2 separate regions of the Homo sapiens genome follow, and region 2 is linked to region 1. The links are contacts of gene promoters, found by promoter capture Hi-C in human tissues and cell types (Jung and others, 2019). All regions are on one chromosome and are shown on one strand. The core of a region is centred on a gene start or on the middle of the fragment in contact, and the rest is flanking DNA. Distances in the headings are between cores, read along the strand shown.

The links. Contacts are between HindIII fragments. The study calls those that stand out against the background at their distance.
Region 2: a fragment that was not itself captured here is called in contact with the fragment with the promoter of NDC1 in region 1 in 1 of the 25 tissues and cell types used here (H1 embryonic stem cells).

The regions. Positions count from the first base shown.
Region 1 is chr1:53,835,329-53,840,446 of GRCh38, forward strand. NDC1 (NDC1 transmembrane nucleoporin) reads right to left here and starts at 2,968. Exons shown (of 18, transcript NM_018087.5): 1 at 2,877-2,968; 2 at 172-292. The coding sequence starts at 2,933. RefSeq lists a silencer at 2,722-2,851 and an enhancer at 2,962-3,441. The HindIII fragment of the contact is 21,020 bases long and covers 1-5,118 here.
Region 2 is chr1:52,529,208-52,534,202 of GRCh38, forward strand. The region is part of intron 1 of TUT4 (terminal uridylyl transferase 4); the gene reads right to left. It overlaps LOC105378723 (a long non-coding RNA gene), which reads left to right and starts at 2,175. Exons shown (of 4, transcript XR_007066083.1): 1 at 2,175-2,292. RefSeq lists an enhancer at 3,095-3,154. The HindIII fragment of the contact is 4,129 bases long and covers 1-3,345 here.

The DNA of each region.
Region 1 (5,118 bases), core at 1,718-4,217:
AAAGGTGATTTATGTTACGAAGGAGACATCTTAAAATTATCTCAAAGTGAATGTTTTGATGTGTCAATATAACATAGGCAGTAATTGAAAATAAACTGCTTGAAACATAATGCAATTTTTATGTTGAGAAGTAGGTCCTATAACTTTCTCCCCAAGTTGAGTATCACCTACCAGACAGCCACTGTATAGGATGAAACAAATCAATCCTGCTGAAAATTATAAATACTGTGGTGCAGATGGGTAGAAATAGCACTGACCAAACAATACTTGCAACTATCCTCCAGCCCAAAACCTATAAACAAAAAGAAAAACCCTCACTCATGAAGTCAGTTAAATTATTTCAGTTATGCAAATCCTATCTTTTCATACAGGATGTTAACCACTAACTCAGATCATAATCCGTAACTCAAACATTCACTACTAGTAATAACATTACGTACCACTAAAGAATTTATAGTATCAGTGAGCTGATGCCTGCATTAGTACAAAGTTAGGTGCAACATCAAATATCATACTTTGTATGAGGGGTGGTGGGCATTGATTTACAGCTGTTTTAGAGCAACTAATACTTGTCTCTCTAGGCTTAATTGATAGCTATATTAATATATAAAGGCTGTACACATTTTATGGGAACCACCTGTATACTGTAACTGTATTTATAATCATCAGATATGAACCTTTACTGGGCAACTACGGCACTGTAGCATTCTATTCATGTTTGAATTGCCCGTATCTATCATATAGGAGGAAAATATTTACTGCTGAATAATACAAGAAGATATAGAGGGGTTTTAAGCATGAAAGTGACAATCAAATTCATGTTGCTCAAGGTAAAACATGTCTGTTTACTGAAAGCTGGCTTTAAGGAAGATGGAGGAGTTGGGACACGAACCAAACCAGAGACAATGCAGTTAGGAGGCAGTCCACCAAAAAGCTGAGGCCGGGCGTGGTGGCTCACATCTGTATCCCAGCACTTTGGGAGGCCAGGGTGGGCGGATCACTTGAGGCCAGGAGTTTGAGACCAGCCTGGCCAACATGGTAAAACCCTGTCTCTATAAAAAATTTTTTAAAAATTAGCCAGGCATCATTCCAGCCCGGGCAACAGAGCAAGACTCTGTCTAACAAAAAAAAAAAAAAAAAAGAATAAAGTTGAACTCCTATCCCACATTCTTTTTGATGTTGTGATTTTGAGACAGCTCGCTCTGTCCCCCAGGCTAGATGCAACAGTGCCATCTCAGCTCACTGCAACCTCCTCCTCCCGGGTTCAAGTGATTCTCCTGCCTCAGCCACCTGAGTAGCTGGGGTTACAGGTGCCCGCCACCACACCTGACTAATTTTTTTTTCAGTAGAGATGGGGTCTCGAACTCCTGACCCCAAGTGATCCTCCCACCTCAGCCTCCCAAAGTGTTAAGATTACAGGCGTGAGCCACAGCGCCCAGCCTCCTATCCCACATTCTATACAAAAATTAACTCAAAATGGATTAAAGACCTACATGTAAGAGCTAAAACTATAAAACTCTTGGAAGAAAACATAGGAGTAAACCTTCATGATCTTGGATTTGGCAATGGTTTCTTAGATATGACACCAAAAGCATAAGCAACAAAAGAAAAATATAGATAAATTGGACATCAGCAATATTTAAAACTTTTTTGCTTCAGAAGACACTGTCAGCCAAGTGCGGTGGCTCACAAGTGCCAAAGGTGGCAACAACCCAAATACCCACATACTGATGAATGGATAAACAAAATATGTGGTATGTCCATACAGTGGATTATTCAGCCACAAAAAGGAATGAAGTACTCATGCATGCTAAACATACACCAGGCACGATGGCATGCACCTGATGTCCCAAATAGTTAGGCGGCTGAGGCAGGAGGACTAGTTGAGCCCAGGAGCTCAAGACCAGGCTGGAGAAGATATCGTATCTCTATTATAAAAATAATTTTTAAAAAAATTTTAGAGGCCAGGCACGGTGGCTCACGCCTGTAATCTCAGCACTTTGGGAGACCGAGGCGGATGACTCACTTGAGGTCAGGAGTTCAAGACCGGCCTGACCAACATGGTGAAACCCCATCTCTACTAAAAATACAAAAATTAGCTGGGCGTAGTGGTGCGTATCTATAATCCCCGCTCCTCGGGAAGCTGAGGCAGAACTCCTTGAACCCTGGAGGCGGGGGTTGCAGTGAGCCGACAACGCGCCATTGCACTGCAGCCTGGGCAACAGGGAGCGAGCCTCCGGCTCAAAAAAAAAAAAAGATAAGACTTACGGACCCAAAAGTTTTTAGTTTGGAATACAGGGGAGATGGCAGTGCACTGGGATAGAAGCACTTTTCCAAAAGGGATCTTTCTCCTCTTTCTCTTTGCACTCCAGAGAAGCGATGTAGTACTGTTAATTCCGTAACTTTAAGGAGGAAGTACTATTCCACTCAGCTCAGTCCCATTCTACCTTACAAAGAACACCTGCCCTGCTTACTGGACCCTAACCCCAGCCTCTACTAATGCCACATTTCTTTCCAATTCCGTGCATTCCTTCCCACTTCTTAACGAAACAAATTAAGTTATTTATTTTGCACCTACTGGATACGGTACCCTTGCGTAAAACTCCGCCTCACTCCCTATTCCAATTTCCATTCAGTCCATCCGTCCCACTCTGACCAGCTTCCTTCCACTCAGGACCCCTCTCCTACCCCGTAACCAACTTCCACTCAGGACTTCCCACAACCCTGCAATCAGTCCCCCAAGTGGTGCCTTCCCCACGCGTTCTCTCCACGCTGCCCCGGGACCGGCCCTCCCCCGCCCAGCGCGCACGCGCGATCAGAGCTTGCCCGCCCGGCCCGACCCTGGCAGTGCGTGCCACAGTGCACGCCGCACTCACGCGCCACAGTATGTCCCGCGACCTGCCGGCGCAGGGCCGGCTCACGGCCGTGGCCATGGAGATGGCGGCCCCTAGTCTAGGGCGTACAGGAGACCGTGCGCCCGCCCGCCACCGCAGTTCAAAGGCAGGAAGGCCCCAGGAGGACCCTGCTGGGTCTGCCTCAAACGCTGCCTGAGCGAAGCCCGGCCCAGGCTCCAACCCATCCCTGCGAGGCTTCGTCTGGACAAGCTCAACAGGCCAGGACTGCCGCGCAGACACGTCCCGCAAACGCGGCTGTAACTCCAGGAACCGCCCTCTGGCGACCAAACGGTCCCTTCGAAGCAGGGTCCAGCGGGGCGCCAGAAGCAGGTGGCGGCGCTGCATGCTGGGAACTGTAGTCTCGACGGCCCCCTGAGAGGAAGTAGGAGGAATGTTGCATTCTGGGACTCGGAGTTCCAAAGTACAGAATGCTGGGAGTCAAGGTCTTCCTGGAGGTGCCTTGAGGCATGCTGGGAATAGTAGTCTTTTATAAAGCCGATAACAGCCACAGTATTGATTGACTGGAATTCTTCAGTTAGAGCTAGCAAAATGATCTGCCCTCATTTCTCCCTATTACTTTATAAGTCACCTAAAAGTGAAACCAAAGGATGTGGTGGTCTTCTCCACAATAGGTACGCAGTAATTTTACTGAAATAAAAAAAAAATTCTCTAGAGATGCCTTTGGTTTCATAAAATCTGGTTTCTACTTCCAGATCTGCCACTTGCTAAATTGAATATTTTTATCTTCTCTGAGCCTCCATTTCTTCAACAGTAAGATAAGGATGAAAATAAAAATATCCTGGTGATGTTGTGAGGATGTAAATAATATGCTATACAAATGTTATCATTAATATACTGCCAGTAAGAAAAAAGGTGTTTCACCAACCCAAGTTTCACCTAATGAAGTCTTCTCAGTGCTTTAGACCTCAGTGAGATCTCTGGATGCATATCGCTAACGCCTTTTTATGCTCAATCACATGCCACAGTCAACATGCAATACTCAAGACAGAAATAGATTCAGTGATTTACTGACTAAGGAAATGCATAGGCTGGTGAGAGGAATTGAGATCACACCTACTGCTCTGCAACGTTTGCTAACAATGGCTTCCTGAATGCTTTAAGATTATATCCTATTCACTTCCAAAATCATGTTACTATCAATCATGTCTAAAGCACTGTAGGACAAACTGGGAATACAACTGATAGATCAAGTCTCTGCCGTGAAGAGATCTATCCGGTGGTGGAGAAAACTTGTAAAGAATTAGTCCAGGCCAGGCACAGTGGCTCACACCTGTAATCCCAGCACTTTGGGAGGCCAAGGCAGGAGGATCACAAGCCAGGAGTTTGAGACCAGCCTGGGCAACATAGTGAGACCTCATCTCCACAAAAACAACAACAACAACAACAACAAACTTTTTTTTAAATTAGCCGGGTGTAGTGGTGCACACCTGTAGTCCAAGCTACTCCATAGACTGAGGCAGGAGAATTGCTTGAACCTGGGAGGTTCAGGCTGAAGTGAGCAGTGATGGCGCCATCACACTCCAGACTGGGCCATAGAGTGAGACCCTGTCCAAAAAAAAAAAAAATCAGTCCAAATGCGTGTTCATAAAGACACCTCAGGTTCTAAGGTTCTTGTGGTAGAGACTACTCGTTGTCTGCCTCAATATCTATTCTCCCCTTCTTTCATAATAATTGAACTCCCAGTTTTTTAACTGGGCATATAGTTATATTTCCCAGCCTCTTTTGCAGCTAGGTATGGCCAGCTGACTGAGTTCAGGCCAATAAAATATAATCAAAGTATTGCATGGTAGCTTCCTAGAAACCCCCTTAAAAGGGAGCTACTGCATGATGGTCTTTGCCTCTTCTTAATCCCATCCTCCATTCAGCTGCCTGGATTTGGGATGTGTTGGCTGCAGCTCTAGCACCATACTGGACCACAGAAAGGGGGTCACACTGTAGGGAAAATGAAGTACTGAGCCTAAAGGAGACTTGATTATTTATGGCAACCATATCAGTTCTAGGCTACCTGCCTTTACCTCCTAATTTCATTTACACAAGAGAGACAATTATTTATTGTTTAAGCCACATCTATTTTTTTTTTTTTTTGAGACAGAGTCTCACTCCTTTGCCCAGGCTGGAGTGCAGTGGCATGATCTCAGCTCACTGCAACCTCCGCCTCTCGGGTTCAAGTGATTCTCCTGCCTCAGCCTCTTGAGTAGCTGGG
Region 2 (4,995 bases), core at 31-2,530, 1.3 Mb before region 1:
ATTTTAAACCACACTACATTTTCACCATTAATATTTTGACTAACATTTTCCAGTAAAAGCTATAGAAACTTACAACTGCAAAAGAATGCTTTTGCTCCTAATTTTTATACATATGAATTTGTTTAATTAATACATTTTGCTTTTATTATTCTTGATAAGGTGTTTTACATAACTGTCAGAAAAGTTGTCAAAACATATGACTATTTCTAAATTCTTGTGAGAACTGCTGCAGGTTCCTCACTTTAACAACTAAAATGAGCTCTGTTTCAAAAATTAAAATGAGTTATATTTCTAAAAGATTAGTTTTACCTTGTCTAGTAACCAAAATATCTTTAAATTTTTAATGCTAGTCTGCTATAACGATTCTTTAATAATTTTGTAGATGTCATCTGACAAAAGCCATAAAACAACAAAGATTTGAAATAACAATGCTGATTCACAATTTTGCTTGTAAAACATTTTAGACAATTTATTCATCCACTTAAAAAATACTCCATAAATCAAGTTTGTATACATAAACAAAAGCTACAAAGATTAAAAAAAGAAAAAAATCAATGTACCTAATATAGATCAATGTACCCGGAGAGTCCCAGGCTCAGAAAATTGACAGGTTTTCATTTTGAGTAATCTTTTTCTTCTTCTTCTTTCTTGAGACATGGTCTTGCTCTGTCGTTCAGGTTGGGGGGTAAAGTGGCACAATTACGGTTCACTGCAGCCTTGACCTCCCTAGGCTCAAGCAATCCTCCCATCTCAGCCACCCAACTAGCTGGGACTACAGGTGTGTGCCACCATGCCAAGCCAATTCTTGTATTTTTTGTAGAGACAGGATTTCGCTATCTCACCCAGGCTGGTTTCGAAGCCCTGAGCTTAAGCAATCCTCCTGCCTCGGCTTCCCAAACTGCTAGGACTACAGGCATGAGTCACTGCGTCAGCTACTTTGAGTAATTTTTCATATAACTAAAAATACATTTAAATTACTAATAGGAGGTTGCAGTGAGCCGAGACCACGCCATTGCACTCCAGCCTGGGTGACAGAGTGAGACTCCATCTCAAAAAAAAAAAAAAAAAAAAATTGCTAATAGGAATATGTGTTATGAAAAAGACTGTATTTTCTCATCTTCCTCACCTTTATTTTTTACTTTTTAAGGGTACACAGTAGGTGTATATATTTATGGGGTACAAGAGATGTTCCAGTACAGGCATGCAATGTAAAACAAGCGCATCATAGAGAATGGGGTATCCATCCCCTCAAGCATTTATCCTTTGAGTTACAAACAATCCAATTACACTCTTTATTTGTAAAAGTACAATTAAGTTATAATTAACGATAATCACCCCCACATCTTTTCTTGTAAGAGTAGCCAATGTCTTATTGCCTCAAAAATTTTATCACAAAATTGCTATTTTCAATTTTTTCTTTGAAGCTATCAAGAGTACAAAATTTTCCCCAAAAAGATGTAATTCCTAGAAACGAAGTTCTCTCGGAGGAGAGAGTATTTTGAAGATAAGGCTCAGCTGGGAACAGTGACTCACACCTGTAATCTCAGCTGCATAGGAGGCTGAGGTAGGCTGATTGCTTGAGCTCGCAAGTTCGAGGCCAGCCTGGGCAACATGGTAAAACCCTGTCTCTACAGAAAATACATAAATTAGCCAGGTGTGGTGGTATGCGCCTGTAGTTTCAGCTACTTGGGAGGCTGAGGTAGGAGGATGGCTTGAGCCCAGGAGGGAGAGGTTGCAGTGACCTGAGATAGCACCACTGCACTCCAGGCTAGGTGATAAGAGCCAGAACTTGTCTCAAAAAAAGAAAAGAAATGAAGGCTCACTGCTTCCCCTGCACACTTTACTTGGTTGAAACAAATAAAAATAATAGAATTCAAATAACCTCAAATCATGGAAAAAAATATTATCAGAACTAACCTCTAGTTCTTGGTTACATTTTTAGAATGTGGTAAATGGGTATTAAATGAAATTCTAACCTTAAATAACCAACTATATCTTAATAATTATCAAGAAAAAGTACTTTTTTTTTTTTTTCAGAGCCAGGGTCTCCCTGTGTCACCCAGGCTGGGGTGCAGTGATGCCATTCTAACTCACTACAGCTTCGAATTCCTGGGCTAAGACGATCCTCCCAGCTGATGTGGCTGGACTGGGGGGCCACACTTAATGAACCATGGCTGTAAGAAGTGATCCTGAAAGTGATCCTGAAAGCAGAAATGAAGGGACTTCTGTACAGTCTTACAGTGAACAATCTGATTCGTGTCAGTCTCCCCATGAGATTCTCAAGTCTATGAGGTAAGAAATCATTTCTGATTTTGCTTATCATTACATCTTCTGGGCATACCACAGTGCCTAATACAAAGTAGGCACCCAATAAATGGGTTAAATGGATTTTTTTAAAGTAATCTGAATTATTTTTAATTGTTCACACTTTAAAAATACATGAAATCCAAAAGATGTTTAATTGCATCATACTTTATGTTGTCTACAATATAACTAGGAAATGTCTCTCTTTCAGAAAGCTTTCCATAACCTACTCCTCCACCCTCTTACCCAGGGTGGGCTCAGATAAGTATGCCTCTTCTTAATGAACTCTTTTTACTTTTCTCACAGCACTTAGCACTTAAACCTATTTATGTTTTTACTTCCTATCTGAACAGTAGAGACTGTCTTTTCTCATCTTTTTTTTTTTTTTTTTTTTTTTTTTTTTGAGACAGAATCCCACTCTGCTGCCAAGCTGGAGTGCACTCTCAGCTCACTGCAACCTCCACTTCCCAGGTTCAAGCAAATCTCCTGCCTCAGCCTCCTGAGTAGCTGGGACTACAAGCGTGTGCTACCACGCCCAGCTAATTTTTGTATTTTTAGCAGATACGGGGTTTTACCATGTTGGTCAGGATGGTCCTGACCTCATGTTCTGCCCGCCTCGGCCTCCCAAAGTGCTGGGATTACCACGCCTGCCTCTAATCTGTTTTTAATAAAACAAATACATTTACATGGTTGAAAAACAGTACTCTCTTGCCAACTCCCAATTTCTCTCCTCAGAAGCAACTACCTACTTTCAGTTATTTTTATTTATCTCCATATTTCTAAATAACATGCTTAAGATAATACTTCTTGTTTTGTTTTAGCTTTTTTTTTTTATACAGTATCTCACTCTGTCACCCACGCTGGAGTGCAGTGGCGTGCAGTCATGGCTCACTGCAGCCTTGACCCCTGGGCTCAAGCGAGCCTCCCACCTCAGCCTCACAGGCACACACGACCACACCTGGCAATTTTTTAAAAAATTTTATGGAGACAGGGTCTCACCATGTTGCCCAGGCTGTCTCGAACTCCTGGGCTCAAGCGATCCTGCTGCCTTGGCCTACCCAAGTGCCGGGATTACAGGCATGAGCTACCATGCCCGGCCTTACCTATTATCTGCTAACTTCCTACATGAAAGGTATGGATTTAGCTATCTCAAATATTCCCCTTAAAAACATACATAACTGTGCAACGTAAGTACCTCCCCACCCTACCACCATCCTCCTAGGATGATTTTAATAAGATATGCCAATATTATTCACAGTTAAGCCAACTATACTGTAGCACAGAGTTTCCTAAATGTCCCTAAAAATTAACTTTCTCCTTTTTCCTGAGCACATGACTAGTCTACATTTCACAAACTTCTCTGCAGTCTGATGTGGCCTTCTGATAAAGTTCTCACTTCCTCATGCTCTCTTTCTCTTCTCACTGAATAAAATTTTCAACTGCCCCGCTTCAATCATTCAACCATCATGTTCTAATCCAGACCAGTGAGTCCCAAACTTTTGTGTATAGGAATAAACAACTAAATGCGATTCTGATTCAGTAGATTGGGAGTGGGTTCCAATATTCTGCATTTCAAACAAACCCAGGTCATGTCCACTCAGCTAGTCCTTGGCCATACTTTTGGTGAGACAGCAGGATCAATGTAACTTAGGCCCCTGAATGACCACATGGAACAAACTACTCATCTAGATTTCCTGACCATTTACCCAGCAACTATTATATGAGAAAGGAATAAAACTCTTTGTTTTTTAAGCCACTCTATTACTGGATCTAGCTTTTGACTTAAGAAATATATATACTTAATCACATTTCCCTTTTGGTATACTTTTCAGTTTTACCTGAAATTAATCACTTCATTTTTCTTAAGCTTCTTCTACATACCTATCAATAATTCATTGACAGAACTATAAATATCTTCTCAGTAAGATCAAACACATCAAGTAATTTGGTTTTGTTGTTGCTGTTCTCTCCTTGGATATCCCTTCTTGGGAGCTTTCTGGTCGTTACTATACTTTCACTACAGTTGTCGTTATACTGAGAGTTCCTTTCACTATCATCCTACCAATTCCCTTACGCTCTCTCATGCTGACTCTTCTTTTTAGCTCTTCCATGATTTATTCCCTTGTTTTTGGTGGAACATACCCTCCAGCAGCTTTCTAAGAAAGGAAACATGAGGCCAGGCACAGTGGCTCACGGCTGTAATCCGAGCACTTTGGGAGGCTAAGGCAGGTAGATCACTTGAGGCCAGGAGTTCAAGACTGGCCTGGCATGGCGAAATCTCGTCTCTATTAAAATACAAAAAAATTTAGCCAGGTGTGGTAGCACACACCTGTAATCCCAGCTACTGGGGAGAATGAGGCACAAAAATCGTTTGAACCTGGGAGGCGGAGATTGCAGTGAGCTGAGATTGCACCACTGCACTCCAACTTGTGCAACAGTGTGCGACTCAGTCTCAAAAAAAGGAAGAAAACATGAAAGATATTGAAGAAAATAATTATGTCCCACTTTCGATATTTCATTCTATGTAGACGGATACCCGTTATCATAACATCCCTGACCTCTTTCCACTCCCCTCATTCATTCCTTGCCTAAGGAGAAGAGGTAACTTACTTCATCAGTGAGTTTGGGAAAATAATCCAGACAAAACTTAGCCCCGTCCCCTCTCCTTCCCATTCTGTTCCATCATACTCT